Regions from separate parts of the Homo sapiens genome. Here all the other regions are linked to region 1. Evidence: promoter capture Hi-C in 16 types of primary human blood cells and fetal thymus (Javierre and others, 2016). All regions are on one chromosome and are shown on one strand. The core of a region is centred on a gene start or on the middle of the fragment in contact, and the rest is flanking DNA. Distances in the headings are between cores, read along the strand shown. Region 1 holds the start of ACSL6-AS1 (ACSL6 antisense RNA 1). Region 2 overlaps RAPGEF6 (Rap guanine nucleotide exchange factor 6). Region 3 holds the start of RAPGEF6 (Rap guanine nucleotide exchange factor 6). Region 4 overlaps FNIP1 (folliculin interacting protein 1). Region 5 overlaps FNIP1 (folliculin interacting protein 1). Region 6 overlaps FNIP1 (folliculin interacting protein 1). Region 7 overlaps FNIP1 (folliculin interacting protein 1).

What was found. Contacts are between HindIII fragments. The CHiCAGO score rates a contact against its expected background, and 5 or more counts as called.
Region 2: a contact is called between a fragment that was not itself captured here and the fragment with the promoter of ACSL6-AS1 in region 1, in 6 of 17 cell types (naive CD8 T cells, fetal thymus, total CD4 T cells and 3 more). The highest score is 7.0, in naive CD8 T cells.
Region 3: the fragment with the promoter of RAPGEF6 here is called in contact with the fragment with the promoter of ACSL6-AS1 in region 1 in 17 of 17 cell types (megakaryocytes, naive CD4 T cells, total CD4 T cells and 14 more); the score reaches 14.0 in megakaryocytes.
Region 4: a fragment that was not itself captured here is called in contact with the fragment with the promoter of ACSL6-AS1 in region 1 in 6 of 17 cell types (naive CD8 T cells, megakaryocytes, naive CD4 T cells and 3 more); the score reaches 7.5 in naive CD8 T cells.
Region 5: a fragment that was not itself captured here is called in contact with the fragment with the promoter of ACSL6-AS1 in region 1 in 12 of 17 cell types (M2 macrophages, megakaryocytes, M1 macrophages and 9 more); the score reaches 12.5 in M2 macrophages.
Region 6: a contact is called between a fragment that was not itself captured here and the fragment with the promoter of ACSL6-AS1 in region 1, in 11 of 17 cell types (M2 macrophages, M1 macrophages, non-activated CD4 T cells and 8 more). The highest score is 13.3, in M2 macrophages.
Region 7: a contact is called between a fragment that was not itself captured here and the fragment with the promoter of ACSL6-AS1 in region 1, in 3 of 17 cell types (M1 macrophages, M2 macrophages and megakaryocytes). The highest score is 6.0, in M1 macrophages.

The regions. Positions count from the first base shown.
Region 1 is chr5:132,001,659-132,005,837 of GRCh38, reverse strand. It overlaps ACSL6-AS1 (ACSL6 antisense RNA 1), which reads right to left and starts at 2,265. Exons shown (of 2, transcript NR_183256.1): 1 at 2,027-2,265. The region is part of intron 1 of ACSL6 (acyl-CoA synthetase long chain family member 6); the gene reads left to right. RefSeq lists an enhancer at 3,489-4,084. The HindIII fragment of the contact is 3,713 bases long and covers 1-3,487 here.
Region 2 is chr5:131,529,763-131,533,941 of GRCh38, reverse strand. The region is part of intron 6 of RAPGEF6 (Rap guanine nucleotide exchange factor 6); the gene reads left to right. Among named protein-coding and RNA genes, the nearest start is that of RAPGEF6, 100 kb to the left of the region's middle. The HindIII fragment of the contact is 3,878 bases long and covers 1-3,824 here.
Region 3 is chr5:131,633,315-131,637,493 of GRCh38, reverse strand. RAPGEF6 (Rap guanine nucleotide exchange factor 6) reads left to right here and starts at 2,265. Exons shown (of 28, transcript NM_016340.6): 1 at 2,265-2,532. The coding sequence starts at 2,464. RefSeq lists enhancers at 1,696-1,895, 1,906-2,155, 1,164-2,363, 2,456-2,545, 2,493-3,075. The HindIII fragment of the contact is 12,440 bases long and covers 1-4,179 here.
Region 4 is chr5:131,653,935-131,658,113 of GRCh38, reverse strand. All of the region lies in intron 15 of FNIP1 (folliculin interacting protein 1), which reads left to right. Among named protein-coding and RNA genes, the nearest start is that of RAPGEF6, 21 kb to the right of the region's middle. The HindIII fragment of the contact is 8,856 bases long and covers 1-4,179 here.
Region 5 is chr5:131,700,453-131,704,631 of GRCh38, reverse strand. It overlaps FNIP1 (folliculin interacting protein 1), which reads left to right. Exons shown (of 18, transcript NM_133372.3): 10 at 366-567. Among named protein-coding and RNA genes, the nearest start is that of RAPGEF6, 67 kb to the right of the region's middle. The HindIII fragment of the contact is 3,730 bases long and covers 383-4,112 here.
Region 6 is chr5:131,717,799-131,721,977 of GRCh38, reverse strand. FNIP1 (folliculin interacting protein 1) reads left to right here. Exons shown (of 18, transcript NM_133372.3): 4 at 2,561-2,661; 5 at 2,918-2,992. Among named protein-coding and RNA genes, the nearest start is that of FNIP1, 77 kb to the left of the region's middle. The HindIII fragment of the contact is 954 bases long and covers 1,567-2,520 here.
Region 7 is chr5:131,737,759-131,741,937 of GRCh38, reverse strand. All of the region lies in intron 2 of FNIP1 (folliculin interacting protein 1), which reads left to right. Among named protein-coding and RNA genes, the nearest start is that of FNIP1, 57 kb to the left of the region's middle. The HindIII fragment of the contact is 4,556 bases long and covers 1-4,179 here.

The DNA of each region.
Region 1 (4,179 bases), core at 1,016-3,515:
ACCCCGCCTCACTCTCAGCACAGCCTGGCCCACCAGTGCAGGATGTGGATTCCAAGGGACTGATCAAGACTCAGCTCTGCTACAAAGCTCTGCTTTTCCCTCCAACTCATGGACTGTTGTAGGGGCTGAGACTCCCCCGTGGGACTCCTCCTGCCCACGCACCCCTGTCCCAGCCTTAGCTTTGCTGCAGACCATTCTAGATACTGACTGCAGATCCTGCCTCATAAACAGGCAGAAATGTCACTGGGAGAGACAGTGAGGTCAACTAGATATTGGATAGAAAGGGCAGCTAGAGGCTACACAGCAAGGACAGTTAGAGCTGGGACAGAGATCAGCAAGGTGGCATGTGAGCCGGCCAGTGAGATTGGACAGGGAGGTTGGCTGGAGTAAGGCCTTAAGGCCTTTAGGCCAGTGAGAGGAAGACAATTGTCAGTATGGAGAAAGTAGACTCAGTGGAGACCCATCCAGGCCTGCAGTGACCCCTCTGCTTTGGAAGGGAAGCTCTGGCCACTCTGCCCTGCCACTAGAGCTGATGCTGCATGAAGCCACATAGACCCCAGGACCCTGCTTAGTGGCTGGAGAACTTCAGTGTTCATCGTGACTGTGCTTTCCAGCAGATGGGCTGGATGTGATTCTCTGAGGACACCTTCAACTCACGCATTTTTTTTTCTTTTTTCTTTTTTTTGAGACAGAGCTTTGTTGTTGTTGCCCAGGCTGGAGTGCAATGGCGTGATCTTGGCTCACTGCAACCTCTGCCTCCTGGGTTCAAGTGATTCTCCTGCCTCAGCCTCCCATGTAGCTGGGATTACAGGTGCCTGCCACCACACCCGGCTAATTTTTTTGTATTTTTGGTAGAGACGGGGTTTCACCACATTGGCCAGGCTGTTCTCAAACTCCTGACCTCAGGTGATCTAGGTGATCCACCCATCTCAGCCTCCCAAAGTGCTGGGATTACAGGTGTGAGCCACCATGCCCAGCCAACTCATGCATATTCTGTAGGCCAACTCCCCTAAGCCTAGGTCTGTCTGTGGTGGCAGGGAGGGTTTAGAGAGAAATGGAGGTTGGGCCTTCCCCCATCCAGTAGGCTGGTAGGGGATTTGGGTGCATGTGTCCCCGATCTCCTTGCCACAGACCAGATATGGAAGGCTATGACCTGTGGAACCAACTTTTCTAGGTCATTCTGAAGTGTCCTGTCTCCTCTGTCTCCTGCTTCTGCTCCCTGGACAGTTCCATGACCTCTCACAGAGACATGCCTGGCACCTTGGCTTCATGAAGATACTGTGTGGCCCAAACGAATACCAGTTTCCTTTAGCCCCAGAGGCTGACAAGACATATCTCCCTTGGATTTCAGGAGATCTGTGGAGCATCCACCAACCCACCTGTTGGTTCAAAATCAACTCCAAAGTGGTTTTGTCCTAGATGTCCTCTCAGGCTCAACGGCCACATGTGTGCTTGAGATCTTGCTGTGCTATTTCTCCTGGTAGTGGGAGTCTGAGTGGCATCCATGCTCCACAGGGCACAAGGTCTGTGCTGTGGTTAATAGGCAGCTCCTGGTGACCATGGGGTGTCAGAGAAGCAGTGTTCTGGCTGCTGAAAGTCAGCCAAAAAAAAAAAAAAAGGATAGAAGCCTGACCTTGGCATGGAGCCTTGGTTGAAGAAGGAGCCCCAGCCCTGGAAGCTAGTGATCCCGCACATGGGGCTCTGGGCTGCCCTTATCCCCACCTCCCACTCGAGGGCACTTGTGGCAGCAGGAGTGTGGGCACCAGGCAGAGGACACACGTGCCCTCCATTATTGAAAGTCCTCTCTGTGCACTGCAGGGTCTTCTTGTGTACCAGCACTTTTTTCTTCCCATTTCTTTCTCCATGTTTACCATCAACACTGTGAGAATAACTGAAGTTTCCTTATCCAAAAAAAGGGTGCTACTCCAGATTCCGCCACTACTGTTTTCGAAAAGCACAAAACCAACAGAGCCTCAGAGGGGGCTGACCCTCTTTCTGGATCCCACCTCCATCCCCCCGAACTTACGTAGTGCTTTCCTCAGCAGCCACCGAGGCCTCCAGTTCCGTCTCCAAAGATGATGGGTTCCTTCCAGTGGGTGCAAAGTGAGAGCCCCAGTGATTGGTGTTCATAGTGGGTCAGTGTGAACAACGCCCAATGGCCTGCCTGGGCCAGCTGGGGCCTCGTTTTGCTTTGGTCTGAAAGACATTTTTGTTTTCTGGTGAGAACAGCCCCAGCCTGGCCAGGAGCCGGCCAGCGGCAGGAATACAAACCCTTTCATGTGACAGACCCAAGTGGAGTGATGCCCTCCTGCCAGCAGCAGGCCCTCCCCTGCCGCTCCTGGGAGGCGGCCATTTGCATATTTCCCATTCATCCTGGCCTTGAAAAGGAGGCCTGAGTTCCCAGTGCTCCTGCCCGCTGAGGGCTGGGCCGCTCCAGTCTAATGTTAACTCTGTGGACACTGTAGGCTCTCACAGGCCAACAGCAGAACTTGACCGCTTGCTGCCGGAGGGAGAGCAGCTTAAGGCTGCAGCTGCTGTGCCGCCTGACCTCCAGAGGGGGGATTCAGGAGGTGGCAGATTCCCGTTGACCAGCACAGCCTTTTGCTAAACTGGAGGAAATTCAGATTTGTTTCTTCTTGAGGCATTCAGAAGAGGAATTTTGTCAGACTATGGGGATGCCAGAATATTCAGCTATTTACCAAATTTGCCAGAAAATGTGCCCTTAACCAAGGGCAAAACTCTTTTTGTCTTGCTCACTTTCTAGTCTACAAAAAAATTCAGTGACTCTGGAATGGTAGGTGAAGGAGCCATGCCGGATCCTGGCTGCAGCAGCAATCCCTTTGCCAAGGATGTAGGAGCACAGCTTGCCTGGGGCACTTTTGCATCCCCAGGGCTGAGTGCCATTAGCTTGTGGGCTGTGACTCTGAAGGCATGAGGCAGATATACAGTACCCATCACCATCTTTTTCCTTTCTCCCATAGCTAAGTGCCATCCTGCCAGCCTCAGCTTCCTGCCCCAGTCCTCAGTGCAGACAGGCCTCTGCCTCCTTCCCGCCACTGTGTGAGGGCTCCTGCCAGGGGCCCCAACATCTTACAGGCTCTTCCTGTGACTTACCAACCCACTTCTGTCCCTCTTCGATAGCCCTGTTCTCTACCCTTTCCCACCCAGCTCGGATCCTCTCCTTGTTCTCCCTCCCTGGCTAAGGATGTCTCAGGTTCTGTCTTTTGTGCATTTCTCCCCTAGCACGTGTCCCCAGGAGACCAGCAGGGCTCCTAAGTGAACAAGCAGGCAAGCAAATCCCTCTGTTGCTCCCCCCACCTCAGTGACCCCCAACCATATATTGGCAGGACCCTCCCTACTTCAAGGAGCTTCCCTCTAGCTGGAGGAGGTCGCATCCCATCCTGCTTGTACCCCAGCCACCTGCAGTTGAGCTCTGAGTGCATGGCCTCGCCATGAGCAGCCCATATGCCCTTTACTGGTTCAAGCTTAGTTTGCAGTGTGTCCTAAGTTTGAGCCAGTGGCAGAAATGAATCATTGCTCCTGAGGCCGGGACACCAGCAGTCCTAACGTGGACATGGCCGGAAAGGCAAAGGATCGTGTTACAGCCACAGGATTTGGCTTCCTGCACAGGAGGGCCTGGCCAGGGAGTGTCCCTGTGCCTGTGAGGTGATGGTGACCCTGGTCAGTATTCCTAGGGTCCTGCCTGCTGTCCCAGGGCTTGGCGTGGAAGGATCTGAACTCGTCCACACCATCAGTCCTGGTTATCATACCCTGTAAATATTTCCAAAGGGACTACTGCTGTTTTTTTAGCCCCTGCTGTCCCTCTTTGCTCTGAGAACTTTGTCCTGCCTAATTCATGGTGAGGGCAACGTTTATCTCAGAGCGTGTGAAAGACACTGTGTATCTGTTTGCTCCTCTGTTCTCAAGGCTATTCATATTTTAAAGTTCCTGAAAGCATTGTTTGTGCCTGGCTTCCTGGTGCTAGCATCAGGAATGTGGACCCACATTCCCTGAGCAGGGCTTAGGGTGAGTGAGATTTTTGAGAGGTACTGTCATGAGGATGGGGAGGCCAGCGGGCAGTGGAGGCTGCTAAAGGGAGGCATGCTCACAGTGAGCTTGGGCTAGTTGCAACAGGTGGCTCTGTAAAGTACTCAGTCACAGCCAGCCTTAGCTGGGCCT
Region 2 (4,179 bases), core at 636-3,135, 470 kb after region 1:
TAGTGGTATTGTGTTTCAGATGGAAGAGGGTGTGGCAAAATTAAAATCTTTTTCTGTAATTTCTATAGAAAAATGGGGCAATTTTTTTTAGTCCACACTCACTCTGGAAGCAGGTTTAATCCTTTTCTTTGATTTCTTCTGAGTGAGTTTTGCTGGCTTCTTGTCTTTTTCTAGGAATTCAGCATTGGGCTACAGGAAAGTACCATGTTGTGTAGATTATTCTTTCTCAAAGAAGTAGGTGCATGCTGCAACTATTGGTGTACATCTGATTTTTTTCCAGCTTCCCTTTGCAAAATGAAATTCTATTGTTTCCATTTAAATTTACTATCTACCTACAAATCTTAGTACTAGTTTGTATATTCTTAATGTTAATTTAGAGTGATCCTGAAGGTTATATCTTTCAGAACAGTTATTTGATAAATAGCAAATTTTGCAAGCAGAAACCCCTTGTTAACAAATACATGTGACATCTGAGAACCTAGGCTGCCTTGTTTATTTGGAATGCAATGGTATCTTATCAGAGCTTATAATTTTACCTTGGGAGGACAATACTGTATTACATTTGAATAATAATAGGAAATATGGCTTCCCAAATATAGCTGTGTATCAATGTACAGAATTAAAAATCAAAATGGATTTTTAAAACTGTGAAGTAGAAAGGGTGCTCAAGCCAATTTTTTTCTTAAAGAATTTAGCTTGCTGACGTGTCTCATGGAAAGGAGGATGGGGTGTGTGTGTGTGTGTGTGTGTGTGTGTGTGTGTGTGTGTGTGTATGTTTTCAATAAATTGCTCTTGGGGCTACATCTGCAGATACAGTAGCCAATTGATCTAATGCAGTTTCTGGAGGCTTTCTGTACAGGTGATGTCATCCTTTTAGCTCTATTCTCCTCCCACTCTCTTTCCTTCTTATTAGATATTTCATCTTACTGCAGAGCATAGAATCAATAGGAGCTTCTCCTTAGGGAGCTGCTTTGAAACAGGCAAGGACAGTAGAAATTAAGACACTAACATTCAGTCTTGCTTTAGCAGAAGATATAATGGTTTTGTACCATATTATATAAAAATGTTTAACCAGAAAAGCTAGACTTAAATCAACAGTGCTGTTTTACTGATACATTAGAATAAGGAACAGTGCTGCAGAGCTGTAAACAGTGCATGTGAATAGAGAAAATAATTACAATTTTGGAGATTCTTAGACATTCTACAGGACAAACCTGTTACGGCATATATCATCTAACTGCCATTTGCTCAACTTTTTTTTTTTTTAAACCTCTGGAGGTTAAGAATATAAAGAAGAAACTTTAATCTTCAGGATACAATGTTTGCTTTTGATGCAGAAGAATCACTGCAGTGCTTGTTCTACAGAATGAAATAAGTTGAAGAAAAGACAAAGCTATATTACAGAGAGGAAAGGTTTCACGGAATCCAGGAACACAGATTTGGTGCATGTTGCCTGATTTGCTTTGACTGATACCGTATTAACTGTTGTGCTACCACTCTGCATGTCTGTGCCAGGTGCCTGAGGCCGCATGTATATGTCTGTATATTCTGAGCCAGAATTGTAAACATCTTCATTTACTGTGATTTGCTTGTTAAAGTGAACGTTTTAATTTAGAACAATACTGAAAGCTCCTGATTTCAGTTTTAAAAGGGGTTTGGAGAGGCTGCCTTTATATAAACACTGCAGTGGTGTATGATTTGTAAAAAGAAACTTAACAGAATTTTATCACCGTACTCATCACTGTAGCTCTGGTTTGAAAAGGAAACTACCCTTTCCAGCCTAGGAAATGGCTTTTCTTGTTCGCTGTTATGCCAATTGTCTTCAGCCATGGGCCTCCAAAGTAAGTAATTGTTATTTTCTTAGCAATTGATTTAATCCAGTTATTAAATTTTATTTTGAACTGTAAATGAGCTTTATTGCGCTCTTTTCTAAACTTTAAAAATAAGAACTACAAAGTAGTCTTTCTCATTGCCATTTTTTTTTAATTTAAATATCTAAAACATTCTAACGTGACCTCTAAGAGATTTGAAAGGTGCGTTTTAAATCTGTAGACTTAAAATGCAGTGCATTTGAGATGTACTCTCTTCAGACTGAATTATTTTTTGATTATGGCTATTGCTGTACTTATCAGTGATCATACTCTAACTTGCTTCATTTTCTTAAATGGTTGATATATTTAGGTATGTTAGTCTAATTGCCAGATTATATGACATTTTTCATTAATATGATGCTGTCATAAATTATGATTGAATTGTGCTATTTTACAATTGAATTGTGCTATTTTACAAAGATTAGTTGATAATTCTTGAGCAGTGAAATAATATGAAGAAAATACTCATGAAAATCAATTATATGAAAATATTTAAATAATGATTCTAAGTATTTTCAAGATAGTAAACCATTAGCAGCTGGAGACTATTTAAGGTCATCTATCATACTTGTCATTTTTAAATAAACATAATAACTCACAAAAAAGCAAAGTGCTATACAACCTTCCAGGCTAGGTTGTAGGAAAATATATACTCTAATTCAGTGAGTTTTATTATACACAGTGGCTATTTATATAGTCTGTAATTTGATGCCACTCAAGTTATCTTTCCTGTCTCATGTATGTATTATAAAACAGTGTTTTTTCAAAACATTTAAATTGTAACATTTATTAAGATTTTTTATGGTTCTCTTGCATACAGACAGGCACAATAGAGGCACTTCTTAGTATGGTCTGAAATCATGTCTTTGTTTCAAGGTTGTCCTGTTGATGGTGACTAAGGAAGAAATCCTATGATAGCATCGTGGTGTTTTTCTGTTTTATCTGGCCTAGCTCACTGCATGTCTTTCTTAAAGGCAGCTTCTGGAAAGACATTTAAATTCACTGTCCATTTGGCAAACAGCTGATTGAAATGTAAATAGATGAAAAGAAGCCTAGGTACACAATGTATTTGTGCTATTATCTGGCTAAGGCTTAAATGGCCTTTTTAGTGAAAATGACACCTATATGGCCCAAGCATTGCTGATGCTTGATAGCTGCACTATACTACAAAGGTTTAAACCACTTGTAGAAAGGAAGTGAGTGAGACCGTGTAAAAAAAACTTTAAAGAAAATTAAGAATGAGATATAGGGGTTGTTTTTTAAGGTAACCAGCAAAATAAAATAGCCTTTGGAATGCTGATAGCCAACTTTTGATCCCAGATTTAACAAATATGGAAGAGTCAAAATTTCAAAATCAGCTTCTAAGGTTTCATGAAATGCCAGCAAACATTATATGAGCAGGATTCTGGATTGGTACTCTACTGTGTAAATCAAGTATTTGTAAGAGTACATGTCTCCATCCCCCTTCCCTCATGTTACTGTTGATGAAATTTTGACTCTGGATTGCAATTAAACACATAAAACTTAGAATTTTGTTATACTTCTTTTCATTTTCCAGTACATTTTACTGGTTTTATTTTTGTTCATGTATTTTTGCCTATGCTACTATGTACTTGCATTTTACTACTTCTGAATTCATTAATTTTCTTGCTAAAATAAATAGTCGTATTAGCATGGTTCTACTGGGGGTTGGGGAAGAATGAATCATAAATGCCTTCCTTTATATTTACTCTTAAGATAATTGTTTAGTTCAATATAAAATAATAAATCCAAAGTCTTTTTTCTTTAGCAGTTTGAAAAAGTTACTACACTGTCTTCTGGCCTCCAGTGTTGCTGATGAGAAGTCTGAGCTCATGCTTTTTTTTTCCTTTGTTAATTACTTTTATTAGTAGTTAGTTATGTTTTTGTTATTTTACTTTTTTTTTTTTTCTTAAGAGATGTGGTCCTCAAGCTTGGCCAACATGGTGAAACCCCGTGTCTATTAAAAATATAAAAATTAGCCAGGTGTGGTGCCACATATCTGTAGTCCCAGCTACTCGGGAGGTTGAGGTGGGAGAATCGCTTGAATCCGGGAGGCAGAGGTTGCAGTGAGCTGAAATCGTGACACTACACTCTAGCCTGGGTGGACAGGGTGAGACCCTGTCTCAAAAAAAAAAAAAAAAAAAAAAAGAGGGAGACAAGGCCCTGCTCTGTTGCCCAGGCTGGAGTGCAGTGGTGTAATCATGGCTCACTGCAGCCTTGAACTCCTGGGCTCAAGGGATCCTCCCACACAGCTGGGACCACAGATGCACACCACATCCCTGGCCAA
Region 3 (4,179 bases), core at 1,016-3,515, 370 kb after region 1:
TTTAGAGGAATCACTTCCCAGGCCGGGAGCGGGGGCTCACGCCTATAATCCCAGCACTTTGGGAGGCCAAATTGAGTGGATCACTTGAGGTCAGGAGTTCAAGACCAGCCTGGCCAATATGGTGAAACCCCATTTCTACTAAAAATACAAAAATTAGCCGGGCGTGGTGGCGGGCGCCTGTAATCCCAGCTACTCAGGAGGCTGAGACAGGAGAATCCCTTGAACTCCCGAGTAGTTCAAGGGACATTGCAGTGAGCCGAGGTCGCGCCATTGCTCTCCAGCCTGGGCAACAAGAGAAAAACTCCGTCTCAAAAAAAAAAAAAAAAAAAATCACTTCCTAGAGGCAAAATAATGGAAATAATAAGGAGTGCTCGGATTGTGCAGCATACTAAGTGCTTCATGTGAATTTTCTCATACTAAGTGCTTCATACTAAGTGCTTAAGTGCTTCACGTGAGTTTTCTCACGTAATCTTACTAAGTGCTTCATGTGACATACTAAGTGCTTCATGTGAATTTTCTCACTTAATCTTAAGAAAATTCTGAAACAATAGGTCCTTTACTATATTCCCATTTAACATAAGGAAAATGAAGGCAACATACTAAGTGCTTCATGTGAATTTTCTCGCGTAATCTTAAGAAAATTCTGAAGCAATAGGTCCTTTACTATATTCCCATTTAACATAAGGAAAATGAAGTTCAGAGATGTTAAATAACTTCAAGTCACTTAACTAGAAGAGGTCTAATATTAGAGACACAAATTCTAGGTCTGTTTGCCCCTAAAGTTCAAGTTCATGGTGATCATGCTTTATAGTTCTTTCTCCCTCTTTCAAAATATTGATGTGACTCTGAAAATTGATCCTTGAAGAATGGAAGGGTTAACTTTTGTTTGTGATCCTGGGCAGATCTTTGAGAGGTTATATTTGTACAAAAAATGAGGAAAACGGATCGTCTGCAACATCCTGTGATTTTTTCCACAATTACTTTATTTCTACAATGGCTATGCCACACTTCGCTGGTAAAGTTTTTGATCTATACCTGAAAAAGAGAAATGCTAATAGTATGTTGTAAACTCCCAGTTTGGGCAAGCCCCAGGACCAACAGAAAACAGTCCTTAAGTCATTGCCGGTCCCAGAAACGGTGTTGTAGCCTGAACTCTCATTGTTTTCAAATATAATTTTAACTCTTATTACGTCATTAAAATTACTGTGAAGCAGTCATTAATTGGAAAGCATGTCATAATCATAAATCACCTTGTTATTTAGTGAACTATGCTAACTGCTGTGAGAAATACCAAGGTGTACCTAGATGTAGTTACAGCCATCAAGGAGCTTAAAATTCAGTGGAAAGGTGGTGTCGCCAAAGTTAGTTACCTATGAACTTATGAGAAAGGGTAAGGAGTATCCTAGAACGATGGATTCTGGAATTGTCAGTGAGCTTATTGTTGAAACGGCCTCAGCAGCTCTCTGGCTGCTCCTAAGGGTGGTCTGTTTTTCTTACCAAGGGAGCAGTGAAACAAAACTGGCTTTATTCGGTCTGTTGGGAAGCAGACTAGAATGTAAAAAGTATTGCAAAAGTTGCCACTCGAGTCCCAACCCTAAACGCAGTTGCCTGAGGGAGGGCTGCCCCGGGCATTTAGTTACAAGAACGCAGTCTAAATCTAGTTTTTTGACTCAAAGGTAATCGTGAGCTGGCCGCGGCACCGGCTGCCTATCCTGGCCGTGAATGTTTGCTTTCTCTGCCCTGGTCTCAGGACGTCCGTTTCGAATAGATCAAGCACTTCTCTGTCGGCAGCTTTCACAAGAGATCTCGTTTTATTTAAAGAGATATGAGGTGTGCGTGGAATTCCTTCTTTGCCGAATGGCGGCTTCTACTTCCGCATATTCAAAGTCGGCAGTAGAAGTTGCAGAGGAGAGCGCAAAGCCGGACTTGGCCACACCCTGGGCTTCCGGATTTGGGCACAACAGTTCTCTCCAGTCAGAACGCCTCCCCACGGTTCTGCCCCAAAATGCTATTTTTGCTCAGGTCCTCAGCGCGTTTCCGGTGTCTCCAACGGATGGAGAAGACGGAACCACAACGCCAAGGCAGACCCCGTGACTGATTTAGGTGAGGTCTCGCGAGGTGTCTTTAAATCTCACGACGACAGCAGGAAACGACTTACTCGCACCGCCCCAATTTTAACGTCACAGTGGAGTTACTCCCTTGGGCGTTTCTTAGCGTGCGCGTGCGTGCTGCGCATGCGCACTTACTCTCCCCCGCCCCCGCGCAGACTTGTCTCCGGCCAGTCGCGCGTGGGTAGAGGCCTTAGGCGGGCGTTGCGAAGGGTTGTTTGCTAGAGTTCGGACCTTGTTACGGCGCGAAGTTCCCTCCTTGGGGCGGGGGAAAGGTACCGCACCCGCTACCTAGTGTGAATGAACTGTGGCGTGGGCTGCTAAGGGCAGGCTGCGGAGTACCCGGGCCGTGGCCATGAACTCACCCGTGGACCCTGGCGCTAGGCAGGCGTTGAGGAAGAAGCCACCCGAGCGGACTCCCGAGGTGAGGCTGGTTGACCTTTATGTGCGTCTCACAGTCCAGTAGACAGCATCCTCCTGTCTGTCCGAAATCCGCGGCGACTGCCCTCTTGCCAGAGTCTCGCACCTGCTACTGGGAATCTGTTCGCTTGAGTCTCTTCCCTGACCCAGGCCCTTGTCGCCAGCAGGGTGCCGACCGCCCTTCCTGCCTGTGATGCGGTCTTAACCCGCGTACCCGTCCTTGCCGGGGGCTTCTGAGTGTCGTTAAGAAAGCACCATTACTAAGTCGTATTTTCTGAGTTGGGTAATATGAGTTTCGCAGTTAGATGCCCATTCGTTTAAGTAGACTATGAAAAACGAGATGGAAATTGTAAGGGAAGTATCTCAGCCATGTAATTTAGAAATAGTTTTTCTTTAAAGGTCTCTGAAATATTGTACAGTTGCCTAAAAAAAAGATAAAGTTTTCAAAGTTAGTTTAAAAGTTTACATCCAGTCAAATGGTGAATTCTGTAGTAGATGATGCATGTTTAAAGAACACCACTGTAGGTACTTTTTCAGACTGTCACTGGGAAATTTTACAGTATTTTGTACTTGGATCCAAAATTTGCTGTGTCGAGTTAACAGTTATGGCATCAGCTTAAAAGATTTTTCATTCGACCTTCATGAAGGCTAGTTTTCAGGCATATAACTAAAACCTGTTAGCTTTGCTTATCCCGGTAGAATGCTAAGGTTTTGGGGAAGGTTTTCCTTGATTTGGAGGTTTCTATAACAAGTGGGACATATTTTCTAAACAAAACACTAAACAGTGTGAGTGGATTATTGGATTGTTTTGTTTAAAGTTGCAGTAAATGAAATGAAATGCTTTGGTTAATTCTTCACTTTGGAGTTTTTCAGATATGTAGTGTTTTGCATACTGAGTCTCAGTAACGTTGGGCTGACCTTTTGGGTCGTGACAATTATTCAGGTCACAACGGAAGCCATGATAGGTCAAATTATGTTATTGAAGATCCTGATGTTTGCATAGGAACAACACAAATTCTACCACTTTCCAGAGTTCTCTTTTTGAGATATACATTTATAATTCGATGAGTGTTTGTTTCCTTATGATGATTCTTGAAGTCAATGTGAGCTGATTTATGAATTTCAGTAGGCGAATTATCTTACAGCCTTTATAGCATTGGAAAGTATTATACAAGGCTTACGATGTGTATTGCAGGTTTCAATTTAATTTAATTTAATGTTATTTTATTTTTTATTTGAAACAGTCTCACTCTGTCACCCAGGCTGGAGTGCAATGGCGCGATATTGGCTCACTACAACCTTTACCTCCCGGGTTCAAGCGATTTTTCTGCCTCAGCCTCCGGAGTAGCTGGGATTACAGGCAGGCGCCACCACGCCCGGCTAATTTTTTGTATTTTTAGTAGAGACGGGGTTGCACCATATTGCCCAGGGTGGTCTCAAACTCATGACCTCAAGTGATCTGCCCGCGTTGGCCTCCCAAAGTGCTGGAATTACAGGTGTGAGCCAAGTTGCCCGGCTGCTTTTAATTTTCAACATTACTTGTGCTACTAAATTCACATTTTAATGGAAAAATCCTACTGCTCTTTAACAGCAGAATTATTTATTTTGAAATTGCCTATTTTATTTTTTTTGAGACAAAGTCTCCCTCTAT
Region 4 (4,179 bases), core at 684-3,183, 350 kb after region 1:
TCATTCCTCTGGTATGGTGTCTGTTAGCTCTTGAATTTCTGCAAGATCCATATCTTTTTTTTTTTTTTTTTTTGAGATGGAGTCTTGCTCTGTTGCCCAGGCTGGAGTGCAGTGGCGTGATCTTGGCTCACTGCAGGCTCCGCCTCCCAGGTTCATGCCATTCGCCTGCCTCAGCCTCCCCAGCAGCTGGGACTACAGGCACACACTGCCACACCCGGCTAATTTTTTTGTATTTTTAGTAGAGACAGGGTTTCACCATGTTAGCCACGATGGTCTCAATCTCCTGACCTTGTGATCCGCCTGCCTCGGCCTCCCAAAGTTGCAAGATCCGTATCTTGAAAGCCTTCACCCACCGTTTTTTTTTTTTTTTTTTTTTTGCCTTATTTTCAAGCTCTTTCATCATTTCCTTGATGGGCTCTGTTGTTAAGTTCTGTGTGCAACATCTGGACACAGTTTTCTCCAGCTGGAAGTTATTGTTTCAGGCTTGATGGCTTTCATGGCTTTTTCTGTAACAGCAATGGCATCTTCTATGGCGTGATTCTTCGGACTGTCATGATATTCTCTCCACTGGGGTTCTTTTCCATAGCACTGACAATCATTTTTATAGAATATTGTGTTTAATGGTCCTTATGGCACCCTGATCTAGAGGCTGAGTTAGAGATGTGTTTAGGGGCAATTAGACTACTTCAACACTTGCAGTGTTAAACTCATAGGGTTCTGGGTGGCCAGGGGCATTGTCCAACATAAGAACTTTAAAAGGCAGTCACTTACTGGCAAGGTACTTCTTGATTTTAGAAATAAAGCATGGGTGGGGCCAGGCGTGGTGGCTCACGCCTGTAATCCCAGCACCTTAGGAGGCTGAGGTGTGTGGATCATGAGGTCAGGAGTTCGAGACCAGCCTGGCCAACATAGTGAAAACCCGTCTCTACTAAAAATACACAAATGAGCCAGGCATGGTGGCAGGTGCCTGTAGTCCCAGCTACTTGAGAGTCTGAGTCAGGAGAAGCACTCGAACCTGGGAGTTGGAGGTTGCAGTGAGCTGTCTGGGCAACCCAGCGAGACTCTGTCTCAAAAAAAAAAAAAAAAAAAAAAAAGGCATGGGTGGATTCAATCCAGAAAAAGAGTTTTTGTTTTTCAGGCTTTCTTGTTCTACTATCAGAAGACTAGCAGGGCTGGTGTTTATCTTTTTTCCTTCAAGGTCCAGAGGTTAGCAGCTCTTTATATAAGGGTAGTTCTGATCTTAATCATGACTGCATTTACACAAAACAGTGGAGTTAGCTTATCCCTTCCTGCCTTAAATCTCGGTGCTTGCTCCTGTTCCTTACTAATAAATGTACTTTGTGGCATCTTTTTCCATAATAGGATTCTTTCATCAGCAATAAAAACCTGTTCAGGCAGATACCTTTTGTCCTCTATGATTTTCTTGATGGTGTCCAAGAACTTGTGTATTGCCTCTTGGTCAGCAAAAGCTGTTATCTTGATATTTTTTAAGCTAAAACTCTTTCTAAAATTATCAAACCATACTTTCCTAGCGTTAAATTCTCCAGCTTTAGATCCTTTACCCTCCTTTTGCTTTAAGTTGTCATATAATGACTTCATCTAAAAAATAATATTAGAGTCTTTAGTTAGAGCTTTCTTACAGCAACCCTGTACCCACATAAGAGCTGCATTTTCATTATGAGATTTAAAAGGTATTCTGCAAAAGTACCTGGTTTTCACACCTAGTGGCATTGCTGCAATGACAGCTTCACAAATTTCCTTTTCTTATTTTACAACTGTCCTCATGGTGGATTCATTGATCTTGAAATGATGGGTAACCACAGCTACTTAATCTATGGTCCATATCAAGCCATTCAAGTTTTTCTTGTAATATCTTAACTTCTCTCTACTTTTCTTGAGAGCATTTCCAGCATCACTAGTGGTACTCCATGTGGATCCCATGATGTTATTCAGGGTTTGCTGTATCACACTAACCATGATGGAAAATACATGAGAACCTTTAAACACCAGTTTTGTTATCTTTTTGGCTTTTTGTTTTATTAGAGACAGAGTCTTACTCTGTCACCCAGACTGGAGTGCAATGGTGCAGTCATAGCTCACTGCAGCCTCAAACACCTGGGCTTAAGGGATCCTCCTGCCTTAGCCTCCCAAAAGAGATTAGTTTTTTTTTTGTTTTGTTTTGTTTTGTTGTTTTTTGAGATGGAGTCTTGCTCTGTCACCCAGGCTGGAGTGCAGTGACGCAATCTTGGTTCACTGCAAGCTCCACCTCCCGGGTTCACGCCATTCTCCTGCGTCAGCCTCTGGAGTAGCTGGGATTGCAGGCGCCTGCCACCATGCCTAACTAATTTTTTTTTTTTTTTTGTATTTTTAGTAGAGACGAGGTTTCACTGTGTTAGCCAGGATGGCCTCGAAAAGAGATTAGTTTTTAACTGAGATATGCTGTTTATTGGAGAGCGGAACTGCTCCTGCAGAGATGATTAAGTTGGCAGGGTGTTTGAAGTACATACTTGCAACACTTGAGCTCTGGGCAATAGCAACAGGAAGTAGCTACAAAACTATTATAGTAGTGCAGTAGGTACTACAGCTAGTTTTATGCAGTTATGATTTAATACTATACATTTGTTAACATTTCTCTGGGCTGTGAATGTCACCTTGTATGCCTTGTAAGTGTGTAAGTTTTTATAAATTTTAACTTCTTATAGTAGATTTGTATTTTATAGTAGTAAATGATAAAATATACTACCTACATTTTTTTGTTTGTTTGTTTGTTTTGAGATGGGTCTTACTATGTTGCTCAGGTTAGTCTCTCGAACTACTGGGCTCAATTGATCCTCTCGCCTCTGCCTCCCCAGTAGCTGGGATTACAAATGCACACTACTGTGGCATGCATCCACATATATTTTATGTATTCATGACATGCCTAACTTTTCTTATTTTCCGTATTTCTAGGCTACACGGTTTTGTCTAAGTTTTTCAAATTGTTGCAAATTTCCAAAAACTTTACCCATATATTATATTGGAAAAAATTGGCATCTAAGTGGACCTGTAGTTCAAACCCATGTTGTTGGTCAGCTGAATATATTTCACAATATCACAGATGTATATATCTTTGCCAAAATTATATTTCCATAATTAAGTGATGAATAACAAAGTGATTTATCCCTGGCAAGAGATGAATAAATATTTGAATACTGTTTTATAAAAAACAAATATAAATTTGGGGCTCCATGGAAAATCTTCCCAAGGTATATTTTTGGACTTTTCCTTTGCCATTCTCTTCTTATTTCTCAATATCATTTCTCACAAATGTAGCCATTTGCATCTACTTCTATTTCTGATTCTTACTCTTACCGAATTATCCATGTTCTTCTCCCATTTTTTTCACCAGTAGTCCTATCTATACACTTCAATGTCATAGTCCTATGTCCCTTTCACTGCGAAACTCCCTATCACACAGATCCCACGATTGCCCTCCTCTACTTCCCAGCACTTGGTTTCTGCTTCATCAGTAACACATTTTTTTTAAAGCTAGATGTATTTATTTTGATCTCCCTCACAAGTCTATGAGTTCTGTTGTCTTTGTTTCTTTAGTTTCCAGGAAAGAGCTTTATTCAGAGTAGTTGTTCATTAACTAGGCAAAGGAATATCATTTGAGGATGCCAAACCTGGGCTTATCCAGGAGTAAACTTTTGTCCTTATTGTGGTACCTTATCCTAATTGTAGTAACATTAAAAGTTAGAGAGGAAAAGCCATTGGTCTCAGTATTTCATATTATAGTTTTAATCTCAGTCTTGTTGCTGCTATTCCATTTGGCCAGTAGTAAAAAAAAATCCTTACCTTTCCAAATACAGAAAAATATTAAAGGTAGGGTCACTATCTGTTTCTGGCAGACATGCTCTGTACTTAATTGTCATTTTTGGTCTTTGTTTGTAAACCGGGGGAAGGTAAGGACATAGCCATATGCCTTGTGGCTCTTTCATGACTATGTATATATGAGTCAAAATATTATTTTTCACTGTCTTAACATTTTTAACAATGAAAGTAAATGCTTGTGATAAAAATTCAAACAATAAGGGCTGGGTGCAGTGGCTCACGCCTGTAATCCCAGCACTTTGGGAGGCCAAGGTAGGTGGATTGCGAGGTCAGGAGTTCGAGACCAGCCTGACCTACATGGTGAAA
Region 5 (4,179 bases), core at 998-3,497, 300 kb after region 1:
GAAATCAAAAACAGACACCAGAAGGGCCTAGAACAGGGAAAAGATTGTACCAGACTCATCTATAAATCTTAAAATTTAGCCACTTTTTGGTTGATTATGAATTGGGATTATCTACTTCTTTAGTTACTTCTAATTGGACAAAAAAATGTTCCCAATCTGACTCTGTAGTAAAATTTCTTACAAGAACATGAACCTGAAAGAATAGCCAGTAGATTTCTTAAAGAGATATACAATTGGTATGAAATTATAGGTTTGTTTGATAAAACAGCAAAAGACTTAGCTTACCTACATTTAATTAGCAAGAAGATTAAATTGTGAATTTATTTTTACTTTTGTAAATTAATAAAAAATCATTTATTTTTAAGGTCTATAGAAGAAAGCTTTAATCTCTCAGATGAAAGCTGTGGCCCTAACCCAGGAATTGTGCGGAAAAAGAAGATTGCAATTGGGGTAATCTTTTCATTGTCCAAAGATGAAGATGAAAATAACAAATTTAATGAATTCTTTTTTTCACATTTTCCTCTCTTTGAAAGCCACATGAACAAATTAAAGAGTGCAATAGAACAGGTAAGCATAGTTATTTATTTATGTATTTTCCTTTTAAAATCTTATTCTCCCAATTAAGCATTATATTTATTAATTTGGCAGAAAAATTAACAGACGTTGTGCATGTGTCCTATAAAGTGCTCTGGTGGATGCAAATAGATTGAACCCTTTTTAAGGTGCTTACTGTCTAGTAAAAGATATAAGATCATTCATCCATTTGTTCTGTAAATAAATATTTGAGGGACTAAAATGTGGTAGACACCGTTCTACCAACTAAAGAGAAGTGATAAAAGCAACACTTCTGACCTCATGGGACAAATAAACATATGAATATAGATGTATGTAATAAGTCCTGTGAAGAAAAATAAAACGGAGAACGGTATATAAGGGATCCTGCAAGGAAGGATTACTAATTTTTATAGGCTAGTCAGGAATGCCCCTTATTAAAGGACATGTGAATGTGGTCCAGAAATACGGAGCAGGTGAGCTACAACCATCTGGAACGAGATATTCCAGGCAGGGGCAAAGGCCTTATTGCAGGAGTAAGCCTGATACTTAAGCAGCATTACGAGGCCAAGGTGCCTAGGTTGAAGTGAGACTAGATCATGTAGGACCTTATAAGATACCATTGTAAGAACATTAGCATTTATTCTTACAAAAGTATGAAAGATGGGAAACCATTGGAGGGTTTTCAGTGGAGGAAGAAGGACATTATTTATGAGGATCACTCTTACTGCTGGTGGATAATAGATTTCTAGGAGCAAAAGTAGATGTTGTGAGACCAATTAGCATACTGTTACAGTAATCCAGATGATGAATACGCAAACCACTTTAGTGATTGAATTGGTAAGAAAGAGTTGGATTCTAGATATATTTTGAAAACAGCCAGTTTGATTAGCTGGTAGACTAATCATTAAGGTTGACTCTAAGATTTTTTTAGCCAAGCAGTTAAAAGGATGAAGTTGCCAGCATTGAAGTGAGAAAGACTGCAAGCGAAACAGATTTGATAAAGGAAGATGGGTATTTTATATTTGCATATGGACATCCTTGTGTTTTTATGAGTCTGGAGTTTACCAGAGAAGTCATCAGTGTATAGATGGTATTTAAAGCCATGAAACTGATGGAGATTGGCAAGAGAGGACAGGCAATGGTAAGCCTGAGTTGTGGTGCATTTTAACATTAAGAGTTTGACGAGATGAGAAGGAACCAGCAGAGGCGAAGGAAAAGGATTGGCTATTCAATTAGGAGAAAAAACAAGAGTGTATTCTTTTGGGGAAAGCCAAGTACAGAAAGTATTTCAAGGAAGGAGTGATCACTTTTGTCAGTTGCTACTGAGATAGTATATACGATACAAATATGTATAGTAAATTGTGAAATATTAGAATCTAAGCTAAAAAGGAAGGACAAAGGTTTTTTAGAAATTTGGGGGAAAGTGAAATGACTTCCTATTGGGAAGAAGTTTCATTTGGACTGCATTTTGAAGGATGTATGGGATGTTTTGGAACATAAAGCTCTGAAAATTGGATATAGCAGAATAGCAAGAAAATCGACATTCTTGCCACCCAAAGGGAACACAGTAACTCATTGCTGAAAAATCTTATTTAGGCCTTTTTTATGCATATTGTGCTTTTACTTGGTAGGGATTGTGCTGTGTCTACATTTTTCAAATTATATGCCCATTTAAAAAAACTCAGATTGAGCAACATGGCAAGACCCGGTCTCTACAAAAAAAAATTTAAAAATTAGCCAGGCATGGGGGAGCACACTAGTAGTCTCAGCTACTAGGGAGGCCGAGGTGGGAGGGGTGCTTGAGCTCAGAAGGTCGAGGCTGTAGTGAGTTGTGATTGTGCCTCTGCACTGTAGCAACAGAGTGAGTCCCTATCTCAAATAGTAAAATAAAAAACATCATTGTCACATACACATTTCTCAAGTTATTGTAAATGGTTCTTACATATATTTTAGTAGGTCTCCTCAATTTAAGTAACAGTTTCCCTGTTAGGCCATTTCTACTTTTGCACAATTGTTGCTACCCTATCGTTAACATCTTGGCGAATTTTCCAGATTATTTTTTAGAGGAGATTCCCAGAAGTTGAGCTGATAAAATCAGTGGCTGTCACCAGAGTTTTTTGCAACAGTCTGTGGAAGGGAAAGGATACAAAGAGGAATAGTGAGAGGTACAACTGGCGAAGTTAATGAGTACCTGATGACAAAAAATGTAGCGTGCTTGCCAGGGAGTTCTGACTTTGTCTTTAAGGCTGTTTGCAAGTTGTACTTTGGGGAGATTAACTTGGCAGTGTGTTTTGTATATGGCTGCTGAAACGAGCACTTGGTAGTGCGTTTTGAAGAGACTGGAGTAAGAGACGAGAGGTGGGTAGACCCGTTAGAATGGTTTAGAAAGGAAAGGATGTATCTCAATAACTCATTAGTGACTAAGGATGATCTGCCTTTAGAGAAGACATAGATGTTAGTTATTCATATTGAGTATGTCAAAAAATAAATAGTTCATTAGCAATACATTTTTATTGAACAAATGAGTAAAGGCCATTTTCATTTACCTTTTCTTAAGTTAGACACTGATTACATTTCTTCAATTGGCTGCACTCACATTTTGTAGTCTAGCCAAAGTCATCACACACAGTAATAAGTTGTGGGTGAACTGACATTTTTAGTTATTTGGAGAAGTATTTCAAACTTTGTATAAAACTTGAAATAGGCATTATAGAACTCATTAAAGATTACTTTTCAAGTGTTTTCATGTTTTAACGCTTTGATAATTCTGTAACCTAAAGCAGCAGTCCCCAGCCTTTTTGGCAACCAGGGACCCTTTGTAGAAGATAATTTTTTCACGGATGGGGCTGGGGAGGTGGGGAGTTGCCATGGTTTCAGAGGCATTAGATTCTCATAAGAGTGTGCAACGTAGATCCCTTGCATGCACGGTTCACAATAGGGTATGCGCTCCTATGAGAATCTAATGCTGCCACTGATGTGACAGGAGGTAGCGCTCAGGCAGTAATGCTCGCTCACTTGCTTGCTCGACCCAATTCCTGACAGGCCACTGACGGGTACTGGTCCACGGCCCAGAGGCTGGGGACCCCGACCTAAAATGTACATTGTTAATGCTTATAGTTGTTTGGATATTTGTTCAATTGTAGTATCGCATTTTTTATTAAAGCTGAAAGATGAAATTAAATGAATGCTTTTACATAAGTGAATGGGACTTAATTTTTAAAGTTCTATAGTAGTTACTTAATGATAGAATATTATTAAGAATAGAATATAATAGTGAATATTGTACCATCCAAAGAAGTTATCTTCTAGGGCCAGTTTTCAGACTATTTTTTTTTTTAAATAAAAGCTATGGATTTTGTTTCTGAACACCTTGGCAATTATTTTGAAGTCTTCTATCTTTTGAGATTTGTGATTTAATTTAAAAATAGCATTGCTGATAAGATTAAGGAAGAACACTACCAAATTCTAGCAAAATAATATTCACTTCTTTATAAATTGCCAGTCTCTTAACAGTTTGAAAAAACATAAAGCGTGTTTCACTTTCACCCTCTGAAGCTTTTGGGTGTACAGGAACATGATTTCTGGCCTAAAGTAGGCTGACATCTTAATTATTTTTTTAAACAA
Region 6 (4,179 bases), core at 794-3,293, 280 kb after region 1:
GAAGAATTAGAGAATAGATACTTGGTAGGTAAAAAGTGATATTTGCCATGATATCTAAATAGTAACCAAATGGATAAGCTCAATCTTTAACTATTGTCTGACTCCTGTGAAGACAAAGAATAATGAAAGAGAATAACTTTTTAATCAGGAGGTTCTTTGGAAACAAGACATTATAATGTTTCAAGGAAGTCTTGCTCTGTCGCCCAGGCTGGAGTGCAATGGCGTGATCTCCACTCACTACAACCTCTGCCTCCTGGGCTCAAGCGATTCTCCTGCCTCAGCCTCCCGCGTAGCTGGGATTACAGGCATGCACCACCATGCCCAGCTAATTTTTTGTATTTTTAGCAGAGATGGGGTTTCACCATGTTGGCCAGGCTGGTCTTGAACTCCTGACCTTGTGATCCTCTCGCCTAAGCCTCCCAAAATGCTGGTATTACAAGCGTGATCCACCGCGCTAGCCTCAAGGAAGTCTTTAAAAAAAAAATTGTGGGAAGAACATGAGATCTACCCTCTTAAATTTTTAAGTGTACAATGAATTGTTTTCTACATGTACAGTGTTACACTATAGATTTCTAGAGCTTATTCAAATTGCTTGACTGAAATTTAATGCCATTGATTAGTAACTCCCCATTTCCCCCTCACCCCAGCCCCTGGTAACTACCATTCTACTCTTTGATTCTGTAAATTTGGCTATTTTAAATACCTCATATAAGTGGAGTATTTATCTTATCATGCAGTATTTATCTCTTTGTGACTGGCTTATTTCATTTAGCCTAACGTCCTTAAGATTCATCCGTGTTGCGTGTTGCAGAATTTTCTTCTTTTTGAAAACTGAATAGTGTTTCATTCTATGTATTTATTATATTTCATTTATCCATGCATCTGTCAGTGGACATTTAGGGTTATTTTCACATCTTGGCTATTGTGAATAGTGCTGTAATGAATATAGGAGTGCTAACATCTCTTTGAGATCCTGATTTTAATTATTTTGGAAAAATGCCCAGAAGTGGAATTGCCAGATCACATGGTAGTTCTATTTTTAATTTTTGGAGGACTTGCCATGTTGTTTTCCATAAGTACAATACCATTTTGCATTCCTACAACAATGTGCAAGGGCTCCAGTTTTCCCACATCCTCACCACTTGTTGTCTTTGCTTTTTTGATTATAGCCAACCTGACAGGTTTTGTGGTTTTGATTTACATTTCTCTGATTAGAAATGTTGAGCGTTTCTCCTGTATCAGTTGGTCATTTGTATGAATTCTTTGGAGAAATGTTTATTCAAGACCTTAATTGCGTTATTAGTTTTTACTATAGAGTTGTAGGGGTTTCTGGTACATTTTGAAGCCAAATCCCTTATCAGATACATGGTTTGCAAGTATTTTTTCCCATTCCATATTTTATCTTTTCCCATTCCATATTTTATCTTTTTGCCCTCTTGATTATTTTCTTTGCTGTGCAGAAACATTTTAGTTTGATGTAGTCCCACTTGTCTGTTTTTGCTGTTGTTACCTGTGCTTTGGGTGTCATATCTGTGAAATTATTGCTAAGACCAATGTCATCAAGCTTTTCTCCTGTTTTCTTCTGGGAGTTTTACAGTTTCAGGTCATACATGTAAGCCTTTAATCTATATTCAGTTGATTTTTGTGCATGATATAGGACACCAGTTTTATTCTTTCGCATGTGGATATCCAGTTTTCCAAGAAGCATTTGTTAAGGAGACTATCCTGTCCCCATTGTGTATTCTTAGCACCCTTCTTGAAGATAAGTTGACTGTATACATGTAGGTTTATTTCTGGGCTGTTTGTTCTGTTCCATTGGTCTATATGTCTGTCTTAATGTCAGTACCTTACTGTTTTCACTACTGTAGCTTTGTAGTATAATTTGAAATCAGGAAGTGTAATGCCCACCAGCTTTGTTCTTTTTCAAGGTTGATTTGGCTGCTGCTTCTTGAAGAAGAAGGTTGTGGTCTTCTGTGGTTTCATGTGAATTTTAATATGTTTTTCTGTTTTTGTAAAAAATGCCATTAGGATTTTCATAGGCATAGTATTGAAACTGTAGATCACAGATATGTCTTTACAGAAATACAAAATAGATATAAATTGCCCCATTTATGGATGCTTCTTATATACAACAGGAGTAGTAAAAATTATTCTGCATATTCTTTGAATTTCACTTATTATCTATCCTGGAGAAACATTGCATATGCATAAGATGTGGTTAAGAATGCCTGCTTTTGCATTATTGGTAATAGCAAAAATCTGGAAGTGACTTAAATGCCCGTGAGTAAAGGGAACTGGTCTGACAAACTGTAGTATTTTCATACAATAAAATATTGTACAGCTCTTAAAAGGAATTAGTCAAATTTATGTGTAACAACATGGTTACATCAAGAAAACATTTTAAAAGGAAGAAAATCGAGTTGCAGAACAGCGTATACAGTGTAGAAGTACAACTCTTAATGTAGAATAACTATATCAAGAATTTTTAATAAAAATCAACATATGAAATAGTCATAAGCTTTTAATTAACACAGTTTGTTAATATGTGGTTATTGTTTAGGGTTCTCGGTGCTCTTCTGATGCCAATATGCTTGGAGAGATGATGTTTGGCTCAGTAGCAATGAGCTACAAAGGATCCACCTTAAAAATTCATCAGATTCGGTGAGAGGTTTTCTGATTTTTTTTTAACGAGTCCCATTTTTAGATATTTTCGTTTTTTTAGAGAGAATTTTATATGATCTTCACTCAGATTGAGCTTGTCATACTCCATTTAACATGTTCTATGGTTTTAATGCTACTTCATGGCTCTTGCAGCTATGCTGTGAAACCTCTGTGACTTACACATTTTTATTTATAATAAATCCAAAAGGTCATTATATTTTAGTTTTGGTCTCTCTCTTTCTCTTTTTCTTCATAGTTCCCCTCCACAGCTCATGCTCAGCAAAGTGTTTACTGCTCGGACTGGCAGCAGTATTTGTGGGAGTCTCAATACGTAAGTGCTTATGGATACAGGGGGAAATGTATCACTTTAGATGTGCAAAGTATGAAAACTAACCAACTGCTTTTAGGACTGCAGCACAAGTTCAGATTTTCTGTCTTTCCTTAAGTTTAAAAGTTCATGGAAGCCAGATTTCACTCTTAATTGAGTTTAGTTGAGAAACATGAGATGTGGTTTCTGTTTCTGTGAATTGCTAGAAGCAGTATCTGGAAGTAGAATGTTGAATGGATTTCCGTCTTAGGGCAACATGCTGATTTTTCAGTTTTGCGGTACCACGCTGAGTTACCTGAGTTACCACAATCTGTAGGGTTGGTGCTCTTCAATTTTCAGATCCCCTACGAAATTAACCCTAAAGACAGGACTGACCTAGGTCAGCCATACTGATATTGCACATATACACTATATAATGATAGCCACCAGGGTATTACAAGCTATTAATGCAAAGATTAGAATAGTGAAGCTGAAACAAAGGCAGGCCTGGTGTCAGGATCATGGGCCATGTGCCAGAACCTAGTAAATTACTGGGGCTAAAGTTAGGCAGTGGAAGACCCCAGAGAGAGATTTTGCAGGTGCCATATCAGAGCAAGACTCATTGGCTAGTCAGAGCCCCTGGGGGTAACCCAAGGTCAAAGGCAGCAAGGAAGCTACTCCAGACTACAGAAATTCTGTAGAGCCCCCATTAATTGTTAATGCCTTAAAAAGACCTGTTTGGAAGAGTTTTATTAGCTAAGTTTCTAATACCTGTAACTCTTTGGAAGGAAAGTGGGAGGTAGTCTTTTTTTTTTTTTTTCGAGATGGAGCCTCACTGTGTCACCACGGTGGAGTGCAGTGGCGTGATCTCAGCTCACTGCAACCTCTGTCCTGGGTTCAAGCGATTCTCCTGACTCAGCCTCCAGAGTAGGTGGGACTACAGGCGCAGGCCACCACGCCCGGCTGACTTTTTTTTTTTTTTGTATTTTTAGTAGAGACAGGGTTTCACTATGTTGGCCAGGCTGGTGTCAAACTCCTGACCTCAAGTGATCTGCCTGCCTCGGCCTCCCAAAGTGCTGGGATTACAGGCATGAGCCACCATGCCCGGCCATGGGGGGTATCCTTTAAAATATTATGGATGCCTTAAAAAATATTGAAGCCAAAAATACTGATTTTTAAAAGTAGAAATTAGAGATCTACTAAAGTAGAAA
Region 7 (4,179 bases), core at 871-3,370, 260 kb after region 1:
CTTGGGACAGTTTGTTATCAGCCTGAATCTGAATTTTTGAAAAATATCATTTGAAAATTGCCAAGTAGGAGTAGAAGATAGTAATATTTGGGCTCACTCAATATGTTTGAGTGTATTTAATTAAATCAAAATCCTATTGATTGTTTACTGTGAAGCTATTTCAGCGTTAAAAAATAGTCATTGTAAAAATACTTACTGGAGTCCTTTTAAATGTGTAAGACACATGGCAGTTTTCCTTGTAAAGATTATAGATGATCATAATTCACTTTGAGTACCTTTTATCTGGAGTGTGAGAGAAGGCAATATTTCACAGTGGAATATTGATCCATTTCTGCGTTTGGTTGAACCAAAGAATTGTCAATGAAGAATATAACAGCAGTTTATTAATATAAGCAGATCATTTTTGTATTTCCATGCAAAGCAAACATTGTGTATGTAGAGTATATTTAATGGGTTTTGGGAGAAAATTAGGAAGCTATGTATTTTATTACATTTTAAATTCTATACAAAGTGAACTACATAAATGCTTTGATTATGCTTCAGAAACCAAAGTACTTTGCATGCTCAAATAGTGTCTTATGTAAGTTGAAATAAAATTGTTAATCAGTGTATAGCTTCCTCAGAACTCATTTTTTCAGATCTGTTATATATTTTATGAAAAATGACTGTTGAATTATAAAACCCAATTAAAGTGAATATGTGTAGTGATCTTAAAGAAGTGTTACCGGAAAGGGGTCTGGATCCAGACCCCAAGAGAGGGTTCTTGGATCTTGAGCAAGAAAGAATTCAGGGCAAATCCGTAAAGTGAAAGCAAGTTTATTAAGAAAGTAAAGGAATAAAGAATGGCAACTCCATAGGCAGACCAGCCCCGAGGCCTGCTGATTGTGGGTTTTTATGGTTATTTCTTGATTGTATGCTAAACAAGGGGTGGATTATTCATGCCTCCCATTTTTTACACCATATACTGTAATTTACTGATGTTGCCAGTGGCATTTGTAAACTGTCATGGAGCTGGTGGGAGTGTAGTAGTGAGGATGACCAGAGGTCACTCTTGTCGCCATCTTGGTTTTGGTGCATTTTAGCCAGCTTCTTTACTGCAGGCTTTTTCATCATCAAGGTTTTTATGACTTATGTCTTGTGCCAACCTCCTATCTCCTCCTGTGACTTAGAATGCTTTAACCATCTGGGAATGCAGCCCAGTCGGTCTGAGCCTTATTTTACCCAGCCCCTATTCAAGATGGAGTTGCTCTGGTTCAACATCTCTGACAGAAGAACCTTCCCGTGGTAGAAAAATATATTGAGATATGGTTTCGATATGAACACTAACATAGCCAAATGGATCCATTCTGATTTTATCACACTATTATCCTTATCCTAGACATTGTTTTTATGTCAACAACAGTGCAATGCTATTTCATGAGTTCCCAGTTAAGTTATATGACCATTCACATGTATCAGCTTTCACTGATTCTAAACAAGGATAAAGTTGTACATCAGTAAATTCACATAACTTTGGAAAGATGATTACAGATTTTAAGACATGAGAAACACTCCGAAGCATCGTACAGTGCTAATTGAATAGTTGAGTCTTATTTATGATATCACATTTGCACATAGGATTTGGTTAGATAATTGGATTTAGGTTAATATACAGAAATCAGTAAGCTCAATATATGCAAATAGCTTCCAGTTTGAACACATAAAAGTGAGACATTCATTTAAAATAGAAATTAAAATGACAAAGTTGCCTATGCATACACTTAACAAAATCTGTAAGTTTAGAACTTTAAAAGTCTTCTTAAGGGACGTAAAAACGTACCTTAACAAATGGAAAGGCTAAACATATTCCATGGCAGTAGTCAATGTTATAAAGTTGTCCAAAGTGCTTTGTAAAATAATGCTATCACAGAAACAATGTTATCCTTATTTTTGTGTGTTTGGGGTGGGGGTAGTGTCTGGAACTAAATAGTGGATTCTAAAGTTCAAATGGAAAAAAATTAGCAATGATTGGTTGGAAAACTGAAAAAGAAGGGCAGTGAGGATGAGCCAGTCCTATCACATTTGAAAATATACTGCACAGTCTCAGTATCTAAAACAGTGTTTTTTTTTTTTTTTTTTTTTTTTTGAGCTGGAGTCTCACTCTGTCACCCAGGCTGGAGAGCAGCGGCGCAATCTCAGCTCACTACAAGCTCCGCCTCCTGGGTTCACGCCATTCTCCTGCCTCAGCCTCCCGAGTAGCTGGGACTACAGGCACCGGCCACCACGCCCGGCTAACGTTTTGTATTTTTAGTAGAGACAGGGTTTCACTGTGTTAGCCAGGGTGTTCTCCATCTCCTGACCTCGTGATCCACCCACCTCGGCCTCCCAAAGTGCTGGGATTACGGGCGTGAGCCACCACGCCTGGCCAAACAGTGTGTTATTGACACATAAATAGGCAATAGACTAATGGAACAAAATAGAGGATCAGAAATACATCCAAATACGTTCAGGAATTTTGGTATATGATTAAGGCATCATCTTAAATGGTGTTGAGACAATTAGCCATGTGGAAGAAAGATTAATTTAGACTCATACTGTTACTACTTACTATTATTATTATTTTAAAGATGGCGTCTTACTGTTTTATCCAGGCTGGTCTCAAACTCTTGGGCTCAAGCATGAGTCACTGTGCCCAGCCTTAATTTGGATTCATATCTTACAGTGTACATCAGGATGAAACCAAGTATATCAAACATTTAAATATAAAAATATAAAACTATAACATTACAAAAGAAAAAATGAGGGAGTTCCTATATATCTGTGGAGTGGAAAAGGTATCTCTAGGCTGGGTGCAGTGGCTCACGCCTGTAAACCCAGCACTTTGGGAGGTCAACATGGGTGAATTACTTGAGGCCAGGTGTTTGAGACCAGTCTGGCCAACATAGGAAGACCCCGTCTCTACAGAAAACATAAAAATTAGCTGGGTGTGGTGCTGAGTGTCTGTAGTCCCAGCTACTGGGAGACTGAGGCAGAAGAATCACTTGAGCCCAGGAAGTGGAGGTTGCAATGAGCCAGGATCACGCCACTGCACTCTACCCTAAGTGACAAAGCAAGACCCTCTCCCCGCTGGCCAAAAAAAAAAAAAAGGCCGGATGCAGTGGCTCATGCCTGTAATCCCACACTTTGGGAGGCTGAAAGGCTGAGGAGGGTGGATCACATGAGGTCGGGAGTTCAAGACCAGCCTGGCCAACGTGGTGAAACCCCGTCTCTACTAAAAAAAAAAGTACAAAAATTAGCCGGGTGTGGTGGCACGTGCCTGTAGTTTCATCTACTAGGGAGGCTGAGACACGAGAATTGCTTGATCCCAGGAGGCGGTGGCTACAGTGAGCCAAGATTGCAGTCATGCCACTGCACTCCAGCCTGGGCAACAGAGTGAGACTCTGTCTCAAGCAAAGATATTTCTAGCTATGAGTTAAAATTCAGAAGCCATAAAGTAAAAGATTGACAAATTTGACAGCCAATTTTTTTTCAACTTGCATGATAAAACAGAAAACAACACCATAAGGAAAGTTAAAAGACAGATGGCAACCTGAGAAAACACTTTGACAATTTAAAATGCCAAGTGTTAATATAAAGAGTTCCTAGAAATCAAGAACCACTCAGTAGATAATTGAGTGAAGGACAAGAGCTGAGCGTTGATATACAAATTGATATGACACGTTTAATAAAATCATACGTTTATAAGATCCTCTCCCTTATCCATAATTAAGAAAATGAAAATCAAAACTATACTGAAGCTGGGCATGGTGAGGTGAGAGGATTGCTTGAGCTCAGGAATTTGAGGCCAGCCTGGGCAATATGGTGAGAACTCAACTCTTAAAAAAAAGAAAAGCAAAAAAACCTATACTGAGATTTCAGGTCTTTCCTTTTCTAATGACAAAAACTAATGTCTGCTGATCTGAGGTGGAACAGTTTCATCCTGAAACCATATCCCCACTACCCTGCCCCAGTCTGCAGAAAAATTGTCTTGCACGAAACTGGTGCCTGGTGCCAAAAAGGTTGGCAACCGCTGTTAAGCACTAGGGAATACAGGTGAATAAAAGAAGACATAGTCCTTTTCCTCATGGAACTAAGAATCTAACAGGAGAAAGAGACAGTTAACAGATAATTACACAAATATGTGTAATGAAATGTGTATTC